3 separate regions of the Homo sapiens genome follow, and all the other regions are linked to region 2. Evidence: promoter capture Hi-C in 16 types of primary human blood cells and fetal thymus (Javierre and others, 2016). All regions are on one chromosome and are shown on one strand. Each heading gives the region's core, a stretch centred on a gene start or on the middle of the fragment in contact. The rest is flanking DNA. Distances are from core to core; before and after follow the strand shown. Region 1 holds the start of AKT2 (AKT serine/threonine kinase 2). Region 2 holds the start of FBL (fibrillarin). Region 3 has its middle 2.3 kb from the start of MAP3K10.

Region 1 (4,185 bases), core at 715-3,214, 440 kb before region 2:
GAGGTTGCAGTGAGCCAAGATCTCGCCACTGCACTCCAGCCTGGCGATGCAGTGAGTCTCAAAAAAAAAAAAAAAAAAAAAGAGAAAGCCACTGCCCTTGACTACCAGTGCTGCAAGGAGTTTATACACAAGCACATGGGTGGTTTCAGTGAGATCTCAGTGTGTCATAATTAAGTGCCCTAGGAGGGGCTAGGATTCAAGTTGGCCCAGGGGAGACTTAGACGTAGGGGAATGGCCTGTGAGCTGTTCAGTGTGGACAGGAGTGAAGAGGGTTGGTCACAGTAACCTTGAGTCTAGATTAGGGCAGAAGGGCTAATGCTTGAAACAAACATTCTGCAAGAGCCCACTCTGGGCAATGTTGGATACACACTGATCTCTGAGACAGTCTTGGTCTCTTCCTTTACTGTGTTTCCTGTGCAGTGGGGGAAACAGACCTGTCACCAGACAGTAATAGATGAAAATGGTTAGGGCTGTGAAGGGGGAGGCATTGGTCAGAGTTATTAACACCGACTGATGGGGAAGACCGGGAATTAGGAATACCAAGCAGCAAGTTCCAAGCTAGAAACCAAATAAGAAAGGGCTAGTTCCAGCATTAGGTTTACGTCTCAGAAAACGAAAGCCGAACCCTCAGCAGGATTTGCCTGAAACACTCTCACAGACTGAGGTGGACCCAGGATTCAACTCTCAGTCAGGCATTTTTCTCACTTACCAATGCATACAATTGCCAAGTTATATGGCATACTGGAACCCAAATTCAGGAGGCAGCACAATCCCCTATGAGAGAGGAGGGGCTGGGAGCCAGATGTCTCACAGCTGTCCAGTATACTAGCTAATATACGGATTAGGATCTGTGCAAAGCTCTTTTCTTGCAGGGTCATTTTTTTTCTTTTTTCTTTCTTTTCTTTTTTTTTTTTTTTTTTGAGACGGAGACTTGCACTGTCGCCCGGGCCGGAGTGCAATGGCATGATCTCGGCTCACTGAAACCTCTGCCTCCCGGGTTCACGCGATTCTCCTGCCTCAAGCCTCCCAAGTAGTTGGGATTACAGGCACACACCGACATGCCCGGCTTTTTTTTTTTTTTTTGTATTTTGAGTAGAGACGGGGTTTCACTATGTTGGCCAGGCTGTCTCGAACTCCTGACCTCATGATCCGTCTGCCTTGGCCTCCCCAAGTGCTAGGATTACAGGAGTGAGCCACCGCGCCCGGCCGCAGGGTGATTTTAAGGCCTTTATGGGCCCAAGTTGCATTATAAAATGTTATATCCCAGATTCACTGGAATATGTACGATGAGAGCAGGTGGCATTAATATCTTGCAGTAATGAACTAATTGGTAAAAACCGTTTTGTTTACATTAAAATGGTTCAAAAGCCAGCGACACAGCGATGATTGTTTCCATTTAGCAGATGTGGATACTGAGGCACAGAAAACGGTCAAGCCTTCTGCCCACAGTCACCAGAAAGGAGGAAATTCAAGTCTGGGGTTGTGTGGCTTCAGAGCCTGAGCTCAACCATGACGAGCACACTGAAAAGGAAACCCCTCCTAACTAACTCCCGCTCCGGGGTCCTTTAAGAGCGTCAGAACCCAGAACTGAGTAAAACAAGATCAAAGCGTATGTAAATACGGACTAGGGGCTGCCGGGAAATAATCACTACGGCTAGGCCCTAGGGAAAGCAGACGTCGGAGTCCTAGTGCGCCTGCGTAGCCCCATCTCGCCTTTCCGCCCCACGGCCTAGCGAGGCCCATCTCTAACCCACACAGGCCCAAAGTTGTCTAATGTGCGCAGGCGCCCTGCTGTGAGCCCGCCTCCTTCTCTGCCCTGCTCTTGCGCTCTCGCTCTCTCAGAGTTCGTCTCTGGCTCTTTGTACGTCACTTCCTGTTTGTGGCGCGAGAGGGCGGTATTTCCGTCCAGAGGGTGGGAGGGGGCGGTAAGCGGGGGCTGGGGGGAGGGGGCGGGGGGGGCCGCGCCGTGCTAGCCGTTGGGCCTGCCTCGGAGGAGGCGTCGCCGCCGCCGCTGCCGCTGCCGGCGCCGTTGCCGCTGCCGGGAAACACAAGGAAAGGGAACCAGCGCAGCGTGGCGATGGGCGGGGGTAGAGCCCCGCCGGAGAGGCTGGGCGGCTGCCGGTGACAGGTGAGTGCGCCAGCGCGTGTCCCCGAACGCCCCCCCCACGATGGTCGCGTCCGGGCCCCCCGCGGTGCCGCGATGGGCTGTACCACCCGTGCCCGGCGGGGGGACCGCGGCCCTCGAGCCCCTCCTTCAGGAGCTGAGTGGGGGTGGCCGAGCGGGGGCGGTGGGACCAGCCTCGGGGGGCCGGGGCGGTGGCGGCGGGCCATACCACTGAGGCGGTGGGGGGAGCGCTGCAAGTTTGCGGGACGGGGAGCGCAGGCCGCAGCGTGCGCGGGCCGGGGGCTGGACCTTTCGGGCGCGGCGGGCAGATCGAGCCTGGCGTGCGCGGGCTAAGCTATCGAGGGGGCGCGCCGCATCAAGTGTAGAGGGCTGTACCTTTTTGGCGCTGTGGAAGCCGTTGCTGTGCTGTATTTACAGGGGTGGGGGCTTCTGGGGAGGATGCTTCCCCAACTGTGGCTGGGTTATATCACCACGGCGTTGGGGGAGCCCTGCTTAGAACGTAGGGGAACCCAAATCAGAGGACTGTGATGTTTGTGATCTTTAAGGGACTGGGACGGGGCGGGACAGGCCCTAGTGGGTTTTAGGGGCGTATTTTGGGAGGACTGTGATGCCGATTGGTGAGGAGGGGTTTCTGTTTCCTGTATTTGACGTGTGTGGCGTTGGGGGTTTACACTGATCTCAGCCTTTATTGAACTTCTTAACGACTCTGGAGGGAACGTCATGGTTACTGGGGTGCTTTGGACCATGGAGGTGCTGCTCTGGATTCCATTACCCTCTCAGATTATTTACCAGGCAGTAACAGTTCTTTCCTTCCATAGGGGAGGGAGGAAAGCTGTGTTAGAAGTCACTGAAGTTGTCTGAGCCTTAACATTCTGAAGAGGAAGAGGGATTGGGCTTGGATTTGAGGAGCCGTGCCCCTGCACCCGCTTGTTAAAACTTGGGAGGAAGGAGTGTTTGGGGGAACACCTCTTCCCCCCAGGGAAGCTCTCTGGGGGCATCTTGATCTTGGGATTGTGAGGACCTCTTCCTCTCATTTGGAGACCTCTTGGGGCTCAGCAAGACGCCTGGGCTGGAGTAACTAGAGCCTCCAATGGGCTGCTTTTCAACTTCATCCACTCCTACCTTCCCAGAGAAGCAGCAGGAGTTCACTCGTGGGCTGAACTTGGTTGGCAGTGGATGTGAAGGGTCCAGGAACCAACGCAGACCACTACATGCTCCTCTGTCGCTGGCCACGAAGCTGTTTGTGTCTCCCAGTTACCAGCTCGGTCACACATCATGTTTACACTCCCCACCAAGGCAGTAACAGTTGGCCTTGCAGTGAGGCCGGGAGCTGTTTTCCCAGCTGTTCCTCTTTGCATAGGCCAAGGGGACTTGGAGTGGGGGTGCCCCTGGCCCAGCCTGGCCCAGGGAGGAAGGCTGCTCTGAAGGGCTTGGGACAGTCAGATCCCCCATGGATCTGGTGTCTTATTGTGGTCTGTGGGCTGGTGCTGGGAGCAGCCAGCCCCAGAGGTCTGTGGCCAGTGTCCCTGCTCCCTAGGCCAGATCATGACCTTGGCTTGCCCTGTAGCCTTTGCTCTGGGTCTGGAGTTCCCAGAGGACTGGCTGCAGTCCCTGATTGACCCAGCAGACCTGGGCTGGTGATGTGGTCAGAGGGGGCAGATGGTTGCCCCTAGTCCGCAGCAGTGACTTCCAAGCTGACTGGCTTCCGTGGCTCGTGGTTCCTGGAGAGAAAGGTCCCACAGTCTGTGAGGCAGCGGCGACTCTGTAGAATCTTTCTCCACTAGGGGTTTGTTCCTCTGGTCCTCTCCTGCCAGCTTTTAGAGGGTTTGCCTGATGGGGCTAACAGTGGCAGTGAAAACAGTAATCATGAAATTGATGGCTGACAGTAACTGAGTGCATTCTGTGGGCCACACACTGTTTGGAATGCTTCATATAGATAAACTTGCTGAATACTTGAATTCTAGAGCGGTAGGCGCTGTTGTTATGCTCTCCCTTTTAGATGAGAAAACAGCATCTCAGAGAGGCAGATCATTTCCAGAGCTAGTGGATGCCCAGTGTTT
Region 2 (4,238 bases), core at 599-3,098:
GTGAAATAGGTAACATTATCCGGAATTGGACCCACTGGAATCATTGCACATCTAGAAATCCAGAATAGACTCAACTATTTCATCTCATAGTTTTTAAAAAGTTTTTTTTGTTTGGTTTTTGTTTTTGTTTTGGGACAGGGGTGTCGCTCTGTGACCCAGGCTGGAGTGTAGTGGTGCAGTCATGGCTCATTTCAGCCTAGACCTACTGGGCTCAAAGGATCCTCCTGCCTCAGCCTCTTGAGTAGCTGGGACTACAGGTGCAAGCAACCATACCCAGCTAATTTTTTATTTTTTGTAAAGATAAGGTCTCACTCTGTAGCCCAGGCTGGCCTTAAGCTCCTGGGCTCAAGCGATCCTCCTGCCTCGGCCTCCCAAAGTGCCTGGATTACAGGTGTGAGCCACTGCCCCGACCGGTTCTGAAAAGTTTAAGCAGATTTTCCATCATAATATCTAAACAATCTTTCAGGAATGTTTCTGTGCAAATTGGTGGCATTCCACAGCTGGAACACTGTACACAGAGAACTCACAACGGTATGAGGCCATCCATTCATTCAACAAACATTTACTGGGCACCCAGAGGGCTGTCCTAGGCCTAGAGTGATAGAGCAGTGAATGGAACAGAGTCAACATCTAGGCTCTGGACTGGTAGGTTCTTCTGGAGTTTTTCGGTAACTTCTCATAACAGCAGTTGTCTTGCTTTGCAGAATGAATATAGGGATGGATACTGATATTACACAATTACAAAGCCCAAAATTCTTAATACTTAAGCAGAATCTGTTGACCCCTGACGCCGCTCTCTGCCCCCACTCTGATCTGTCCATCCTTTTCTTCTGATTCACGGCAGCAGCCAGTCCTTGGTTTTCCTGCTTTCACCCTCACTCCTGCAGTCTGCTTCCCACATGCAGCCAGAGGGACCTGTGTCAGATCACATTCCTTCTCTGCTTGGAACCCTTCCATGGTTCCATCTTACTGCCTAAGTCCTCACTATGTCCCACAAAGCTCCGCACAATCTGCCCTTGTTAGCTACCCGCCCTTATCTCCTCTTACTCTCCACCTTGCTCACTTTGCCCCACCCACCCTCCTCATTGTCTCTCCAACTTCCCATATCTTTCCTTCCTCAGGGCCTCTGCATCTGCAGATCTTTTCCCTGCCTGGAACTCTCTTCCCCTAGATAGGTGCATGCCTCACTCCTCACTTCCTTCAGCCCTTTAGCTCAAAAGTCTCCTGATGCATTCCTTGACCACCGTGCCAAAAAAACAAAAATCATTTGCCCTCCAAAATCTCTATCCCCTTTCCCTGCTGTTATTTTCTCCAAAGCACTTATCGCTTTCAAACATTCAACATGTTTGGTGTCTATTTCCTCCATTAAAAAGATGAACTCCAGGAGAGTGGAGATTTTTATGTCTCGTACACCGCTGTATTCCCAGCTCCTAGAACAGCACCTGGTACACACGAGGTGCACTGTAAATGTTTTTCGGATGTTTGAATGGAAGCCCAGAGTCGGTCACTGTTCTTGGGGCTGGAAATGTATTGGGGAAGCCTTTTTGGGTGTACAGGGGCCAGAGGGATTTAGCTAGGAATACAAAAGAGGGCACAGCCCGTGCGAAGGCTATGAGCCCTGATTATTGGGGTGCTCGCATTGGGGAAGAGGAAACCGGAAGCGAGTTTAGGGCGACCGCTGCACAGGCAAAGGCTGGGAAGGCAGAGAGCGAGGGCAGCGGGTTGCGTGTCGACAGGCTCGAGAATCCAGGCTCACTGCGCGTGCGCCGAGCTCCGGGCGGGGAAGGGGCCCGGGGGCGGGACTACGGGGTGGCGTCACGCAGCGCACGTCGCCGCGCGCCTGCGCTCTTTTCCACGTGCGAAAGCCCCGGACTCGTGGAGTTGTGAACGCCGCGGACTCCGGAGCCGCACAAACCAGGGCTCGCCATGAAGCCAGGTCAGGCTGGGGTGAGGGTCCGGGGTCAGGGACGGAGGCCGGGCGGGAATCCGGGTGCCAGGCCAGAATCGGAGGGGTGGGGCCTTGGCCTGGGGGCAGGGGTTCTGAGCACGGGTTCCAGTCTCCTGTGGGAAGGGGGATTCTGATTCCAGCAGGTCTAGGGGTTTGTGACTGGCTTCAGAGGTCACGGTCGTGAGTCGAAGAAGGCCGTGGGCCTGGCATTGGGGGTGTTGACGTGGGGTTCGTCTCATTGAGGCCGTCTAATAGGGATTTTGGATATTGGGCAGGAGGCGGCACTCAAGGGTCTTGGGCTAGAGTTTGGATTCAGGCATCTGGAGTCTTGGATCGCTGGGCGTGTTTTGGGAATCAGGCTTGGGTCGGAGATGGAGAGTTCCTGACCTTGGGTCCTGGAGCTGTGTGTGGGAAGCCCCCATTTGCCTTCCCTGTCGCTGCCACCACCACCATCCCCTTATCCCGCATCCCAGCTTTTCCGAGTGGGCCGGAGTGGATGAGGACTCCCCGGTTGGCCGTGTGCGGCGCTCTTCGGCTCACTTTCCCGCCTTCTGCACTTACAGTGGGGCGGATCCCCGGGGATGGAGTGGAGATTTGGGGATTAAGATTTCCACCTCCGGGACGAGACTTAACAAGCTCGGCATTAGTCTGGGGTGGTGGGGCGGGTGGTTGTCACAGGAGGTAAGTAGTTTTATTCTTAAGATTTTCCACTAGATTCTGCTGAAACCACTCCCTTCATGGTGGAATGATGAGGGGGTCCTGGCTTTGACAGCAGAAGGGCCTCAGTTCAGTGTGTCAGCTCTTGCTCAGCTTCTTAGCCTGCTGTGTGAACTTGGGCAAGTGGCTTTACCTCTCTGAGCCTCTGTTTTCTCATCAATAAAATGGCGCCAGTTAGGATTAAGCGACGTTAAAAAAAATAGCACAGTGCTTGACATATAATAGTATTAGCTCTAATTGTTACCTTTATCTTTCTCAAAGAGAACAACATTAGAATCCTTCTCGGTGGTGCCTGAGCACTTCCTCCATCTGGCCTGCCCAACCCGCACTCATCTGTGTGAGAACTTGCTTCATTGAGTTTGGAGAATTTCCACCATGGCCCAAAGGGTCTGTTTTCCTAGTACAGGCTTTCTTTTTCTTTTGTGTGTGTGTTTGTGTGGAGAGATGGGGGTCACCTGGCAGGAGATTTGTGGATCTGTGCCCTTCTCCCAAGTTCCCTTTCTCTTCCGTGTTTGGGGATCTCTTGATGAAGTGGGGTGGGGGATTGTAGGCCAGGTATGCTGAGATCCTGGCTTGCCTGCAGGCATTCTGGTCTGTGATTCCCTCATAAATGGAGGATACCCGTTCTTCCAACCTTCCTCCATGTGTGGTAGAATGTGAAGTTGTAAAAGTTGTCAGGTGTTAGCTCTTTAGTAAGGATTTTAGCCTGAGTGAGAAAAGAACCCTTTGGGAGATTTTTGAGCAGGGGCGTGGTGCAGTCTGACATTTTTAAAAGGGATTCTTTTTGCTTCGATGTGTGAAAGACCTCAGGGTGGCAAAAGTGGAAGCAGGCACATTGGTGGGAAGCTTGTTGCTGTAATCTAGGAGATGGTGTGGTGGACCAGGATGGGAGCAGTGGACATGCTGACAGTTTTACATGCTTTTGAAGACAGAACCAACAGATTGTATGTGGGTGTGTGATCGGAGTCAAGGATAACCAAGGGTTTGGGGGTGTGTAACTGGAAGGATGGAATTGCCATTTTTGAGATGGAGAAGGCTGTGGAAGGAGAGCAGATTTTAAATCAGGGGGTTTATGGACCCCCCTCCCCCCAAAAAAAGAACTTACTGGAAAAGTTTGTGTGAACATGTGTTTTTTCTGAGGACTGGGTACTTTTGGTACATTTTCCCCCAAAAGCTCCAGGACCTGAAACGGATTGAGATGTTTTGAGTATCTGGGATTGAAAGTTTACACTCATGCCCACTCCGCCCCAAGCACATGCCAGTACTTCCTTTCTGTTAGGCCTGGGTTGAGACTTTCATAAGCCTAGCTGTGGCATCTCCCCTAAATGAAGGTCTTGGCTTTGGAAAACTGTTGGAGGGCTTGGGCAAGAAAATTGAGATCTGAGTTGCTGTTTCAAAAACAGCACTTATTAGTTGCTGTGTGGAAAGTGGACTGTAGGGGGAGTAGAACATTAAAAAGTGAACAACTCTTAGTTATGTTCTAGAGTTTTGAAAAGGAAACTTCATTTTAAAAGATCAAATTAGGAGTAGCTATTAAAAGTTACATTTTCATCTTTAATAGAAAGATGAAAAA
Region 3 (4,348 bases), core at 670-3,169, 340 kb before region 2:
CGCAATGGACATGACACCCCACGAAGCCGAAGGAGTCCTCCCGGGGAGATGAGCCCGGCCTCGGCCCCTCCTTCGGACGCGGCGTAGCGGGCGCCCGGGGCGGGGGGAAGCGCTCCTCACAGACCCTGTGGGGGCCGCGGCCCAGGATGGGTTGGACTGCAACGGACGCGATTAGCAACGCGAAAAATAGGAGCTGCGTGCATGACTGTGACTGCCCGGAGCCGCGAACGCAGCCTGGACCTTATCCCTGAGGCAGGACGGCCCCTCGGACCCCCCGACCGAGATGTACGCTGGGAACTGTAGTCCGCGCGGGGACCTGGCGCTGCAGGGGGCGGCCCCCAAACAGCGGGCTGCGGGCGTCGGCGGGTGGTTGGAGCAAGTTAGGGGTCGGGCCGGTGGCGGGACTCTGCGGGGAAGATGGGGCTGGGAGGATGTGTTTAGTGTCCCTGGGGATGTCACAGCCACGTCTGCTTTCCCCACCAGCTCTGGGTTCCTCTGCTGAAGTCAGAACTCCTGCTCTTGAGAATCCCCGATTCCTATTTTATAGGAGTTTCAATTTCGGGGAGCTTAATGTGCATGTTGTATTCAGTGCTTTGTACACGTGGTATCGTTAAGTCTTCACAAAGAGCCCCATTTTACAGATGACTCATAGAGAAGTGAAGTCATTTGTGCAAGGCTACAGAGCTATAAATGGCAAAGCAAAAATGAAAGGCAGTTTTAAAAATTAACAACCAGGCCGGGCGCGGTGGCTCACGCCTGTAATCTCAGCGCTATGGGAGGCCAAGGCGGGCGGATCACGAGGCCAGGAGTTCGTGACCAGCCTGGCCAGCATGGTGAAACCCCCGTCTCTACTATTTAAAAAAAAAAAAAAAAATTAGCCGGGCGTGGTGGTGTGCGCCTGTAATCTATCCCAGCTACTCGGGAGGCTGAGGCAGGAGAATCGCTTGAACCTGGGAGGTGGAGGTTGCAGTGAGCCAAGATCACGCCACAGCACTCCAGCCTGGACGACAGGGCAAGACTCCGTCTCAAAATAAATAAATAAATAAATAACCATCGCCACGATTAACAAAAACAACAACAACAAAAAAAAAAACAACAAAAAACAAACAAACAAAAAACCCACTGCCTTTCTATTTAAAGAATGAGGAAAGTAGGTCCCGCAGAGGTTCAGTGACTTCTTCAAGATCTCTAAGCTTGTAAGAGGCAAAATTCTGGGTCTTTTTACTTGGCCTCTCCTGAGTGGTATGGGGTCTAGAGGGAGGAGAGAAGAAGAGGAAATAAGAGGGACTCTAGTGCCCAAACTCCAGAGAACTGCCCCTCAGGGTCCTTGGGGAATTGTTCCATTGTCAGAGGGAAGTGGGTTACCTGGTCTCCTGGCTACCTAGCAGGGACACTCGGAGCATATCAAAAATGCTTGTTGGAAGAGAGAGCCCCAGCTTCATTCTGAGTATAAGTGTTTCTGCTATAACCTGCTATATGCATTCTTAAAAAACCTTCAGTTCTTCAAAACGGTGCACTAAAATTAACAAGACTTCATGGAAAAAATAGAGTTAGAGACAGATTGCTCAAAATATATGCAACTAGCTGGGCACGGTGGCTCATGCCTGTAATCCCAGCACTTTCAGAGGCCGAGGAGGGAGAATTACTGGAGTCCAGGAGTTTCAGACTAGCCTGGGCAACATAGGGAGACTCCGTCTCTACAAAAAAATAAAAAATTAGGCGGGTGTGGTGGTGTGCACCTGTGTTCCCAGCTACTCGGGAGACTGAGGTATAGGGGTATTACCTGAGCCCAGGAGGTCGAGGCTACTGTGAGCTGTGATTGTGGCACTGACTGCACTCCAGCCTGAGAGACAGAGCGAGACCCTGACTCAAAAAAAAAAAAGTAAAAATAAAAACCTGTATACAACTTTTTTTTTTTTTGAGATGGAGTCTCACTCTGTTGCCAGGCTGGAGTGCAGTGGCACGGTCTTGGCATACCACAACCTCCGACTCCCTGGTTCAAGTGATTCTCCTGCTTCAGCCTTCCGAGTAGTTGGAATTACAGGTGGGCGCCACCATGCCCAGCTAATTTTTGTATTTTTAGTAGAGACAGGGTTTCACCATGTTGGCCAGGATAGTCTCGATCTCCTGACCTCGTGATCCGCCCGCCTTGGCCTCTCAAAGTGCTGGGATTACAGGTGTGAGGCACCATGCCCGGCCTCTTGTATACAACTTTATATTCAGAGTGCTACAAAACCAATAATGATGCTAATAGAAACACTAGAATAGGTAAATTTCCATGAGCATTTGCTTTCAGCAGCACTTTGCAGCCTTGAAGGTGGGGCTTATGCTTCCTCTTTGGGGATGCTGGTTGGAGATATTAACTATTGATGGGGATCATTTTCATCAAAACTCGAAATGTGATCCAAGGTGTGATCTTTTTCATTAATCTGTTATTTTAATATGGGAGAAATATATTTGCAATTTCTTCATCTGCATTCATGGATTTGCCATAGGCATAACACTGTGACAAATATGGTGGTCTTTGAAGTCACTAAACCAGCCACCGTGGATCCAAAGGAAGACACTTCTGTAGATTTGCAGCTTTTTCCTCTGAAGATCTTCTTTTAGTACTAAGGCTTCCCCTTTAACTGTGAGAAAGCTTGGCCCTGATTGCTTCAAAATGTTAACTTCCTGGAGAAAATTGCATGTTAACCAACATGCTTGTGTTATGCTGACATCATTACTCTGTTTACCAATCATTTATGGGGTGATTCATCTCAAAGAAGCAAATAGAGGGTGGGGGCGGTGGCTCACACACCTGTAATCGCAGCACTTTGGGAGGCTGAGGCAGGCAAATCACCTGAGGTCAGGAGTTTGAGACCAGCCTGGACAACATGGTGAAACCTCATCTCTACTAAAAATACAAAAATTAGCCAGGCGTGGTGGCAGGTGCCTGTAATCTCAGCTACTCAGGAGGCTGAGGCAGGAGAATCGCTTGAACCTGGGAGGCGGAGGTTGCAGTGAGCCGAGATCGAGCCAGTGTACTCTAGCCCGGACGACAGAGGGAGACTCTGGAAGAAGCAAATGGGCTGCAGAACAGGTTGTCTCTGGGCCCGGTGCGGTGGCTCACGCCTGTAATCCCAGCACTTTGGGAGGCCAAGGCGGGTGGATCACAAGGTCAGGAGTTCAAGACCAGCCTGGCCAACATGGTGAAACCCTGTCTCTACTAAAAATACAAATTTAGTCAGGGCATGGTGGCAGTCACCTGTAATCCCAGCTGCTCGGGAGGCTGAGGCAGGGGAATCGCTTGAACCGGGTGGCAGAGGTTGCAGTGAGCCGAGATTGCGCCACTGCACTCCAGCCTGGTGACAGAGTGAGACTCCATCTCAAAAAAAAAAAGAAAAAAAATTATCTTGGATTTGGCTGCCTTGTTGAACTCACTCTTGCTTGTTCTAGAATAGCTTGACAGATAATTCTCTTCGATTTTCTAGCTAGATGATCCTGTTGTCCAGAAAAAAGAAAAAAATTACAGCTTTAAAAAATCTGATGTCTATGCTTTTTTTCTTAATCCTCTCCTCTTTGGCTAGGAGTTCCAATACAATGTTGAATGGCAGTGGTATTAATGGACAATTCTTGTCTTGTCCTAGACATTTAAGGGAATGATCCTAAGGTTTCATCATTAAATATGATGCTTTCAGTAGATTTCTAGTAGAAGTCCTTTATCAGGTTCTATTCCTAACTTGCTAGAGATTTTTCTTTCTTTCTTTCTTTCTTTCTTTTTTAAATGCAGGTGTTACATTTTATCAAATGCTTTTTATGCATTTATTTATGCAATCAGATGGTTTTTCTGCCTTTAATCCATTAATGTTGATTATCTCCTCTTTCTTGCTTTCACCATTGCTGGATTTGATTTAATAATACTTTATTTAGGGTTGTTTTGCATTTCTTTTCTTTTCTTTTCTTTTTTTTTTTTTTTTGAGACAGCCTTGCTGTGTCATCCAGGCTATAGTGCAGTGGTGATATCTCAGCTCACCCACCTCCTGGGTTCAAGCGATTCTCCCACCTCAGCCTCCAGAGCTGAGACTATAGGCGCATGCCACTGTGCCCAGCTAATTGTTACATTTTTAGTAGACATGGGGTTTTGCCATGTTGGCCGGAGTGGTCTCCAAATCCTGGCCTCAAGGAATCCACCTGCCTTGGCCTCCCAAGGTGCTGGGATTACAGGCATGAGCCACTGTGCCTGGCCTGCATTTGTTTTCATAAATGGAATTTTCTGGTGTTATTCTTGCCTAGTTTTGACATTGGCGGAATGCTAGCCCTATTCAATGAGTTGGGGAGCTTTTTTTTTTTTTTGTGGTGAGAACAC

Evidence for each region. Contacts are between HindIII fragments. The CHiCAGO score rates a contact against its expected background, and 5 or more counts as called.
Region 1: the fragment with the promoter of AKT2 here is called in contact with the fragment with the promoter of FBL in region 2 in 17 of 17 cell types (neutrophils, monocytes, total B cells and 14 more); the score reaches 18.9 in neutrophils.
Region 3: a contact is called between a fragment that was not itself captured here and the fragment with the promoter of FBL in region 2, in 6 of 17 cell types (fetal thymus, neutrophils, total B cells and 3 more). The highest score is 8.3, in fetal thymus.

What each region holds. Positions count from the first base shown.
Region 1 is chr19:40,283,124-40,287,308 of GRCh38, reverse strand. It overlaps AKT2 (AKT serine/threonine kinase 2), which reads left to right and starts at 1,964. Exons shown (of 14, transcript NM_001626.6): 1 at 1,964-2,128. RefSeq lists enhancers at 812-1,643, 2,800-2,939 and a silencer at 1,930-2,429. The HindIII fragment of the contact is 30,037 bases long and covers 1-4,185 here.
Region 2 is chr19:39,843,989-39,848,226 of GRCh38, reverse strand. FBL (fibrillarin) reads left to right here and starts at 1,848. Exons shown (of 9, transcript NM_001436.4): 1 at 1,848-1,936. The coding sequence starts at 1,927. RefSeq lists an enhancer at 2,303-3,043. The HindIII fragment of the contact is 4,240 bases long and covers 1-3,513 here.
Region 3 is chr19:40,186,968-40,191,315 of GRCh38, reverse strand. No RefSeq gene overlaps it. Among named protein-coding and RNA genes, the nearest start is that of MAP3K10, 2.3 kb to the left of the region's middle. RefSeq lists a silencer at 1-262 and an enhancer at 423-662. The HindIII fragment of the contact is 1,448 bases long and covers 1,196-2,643 here.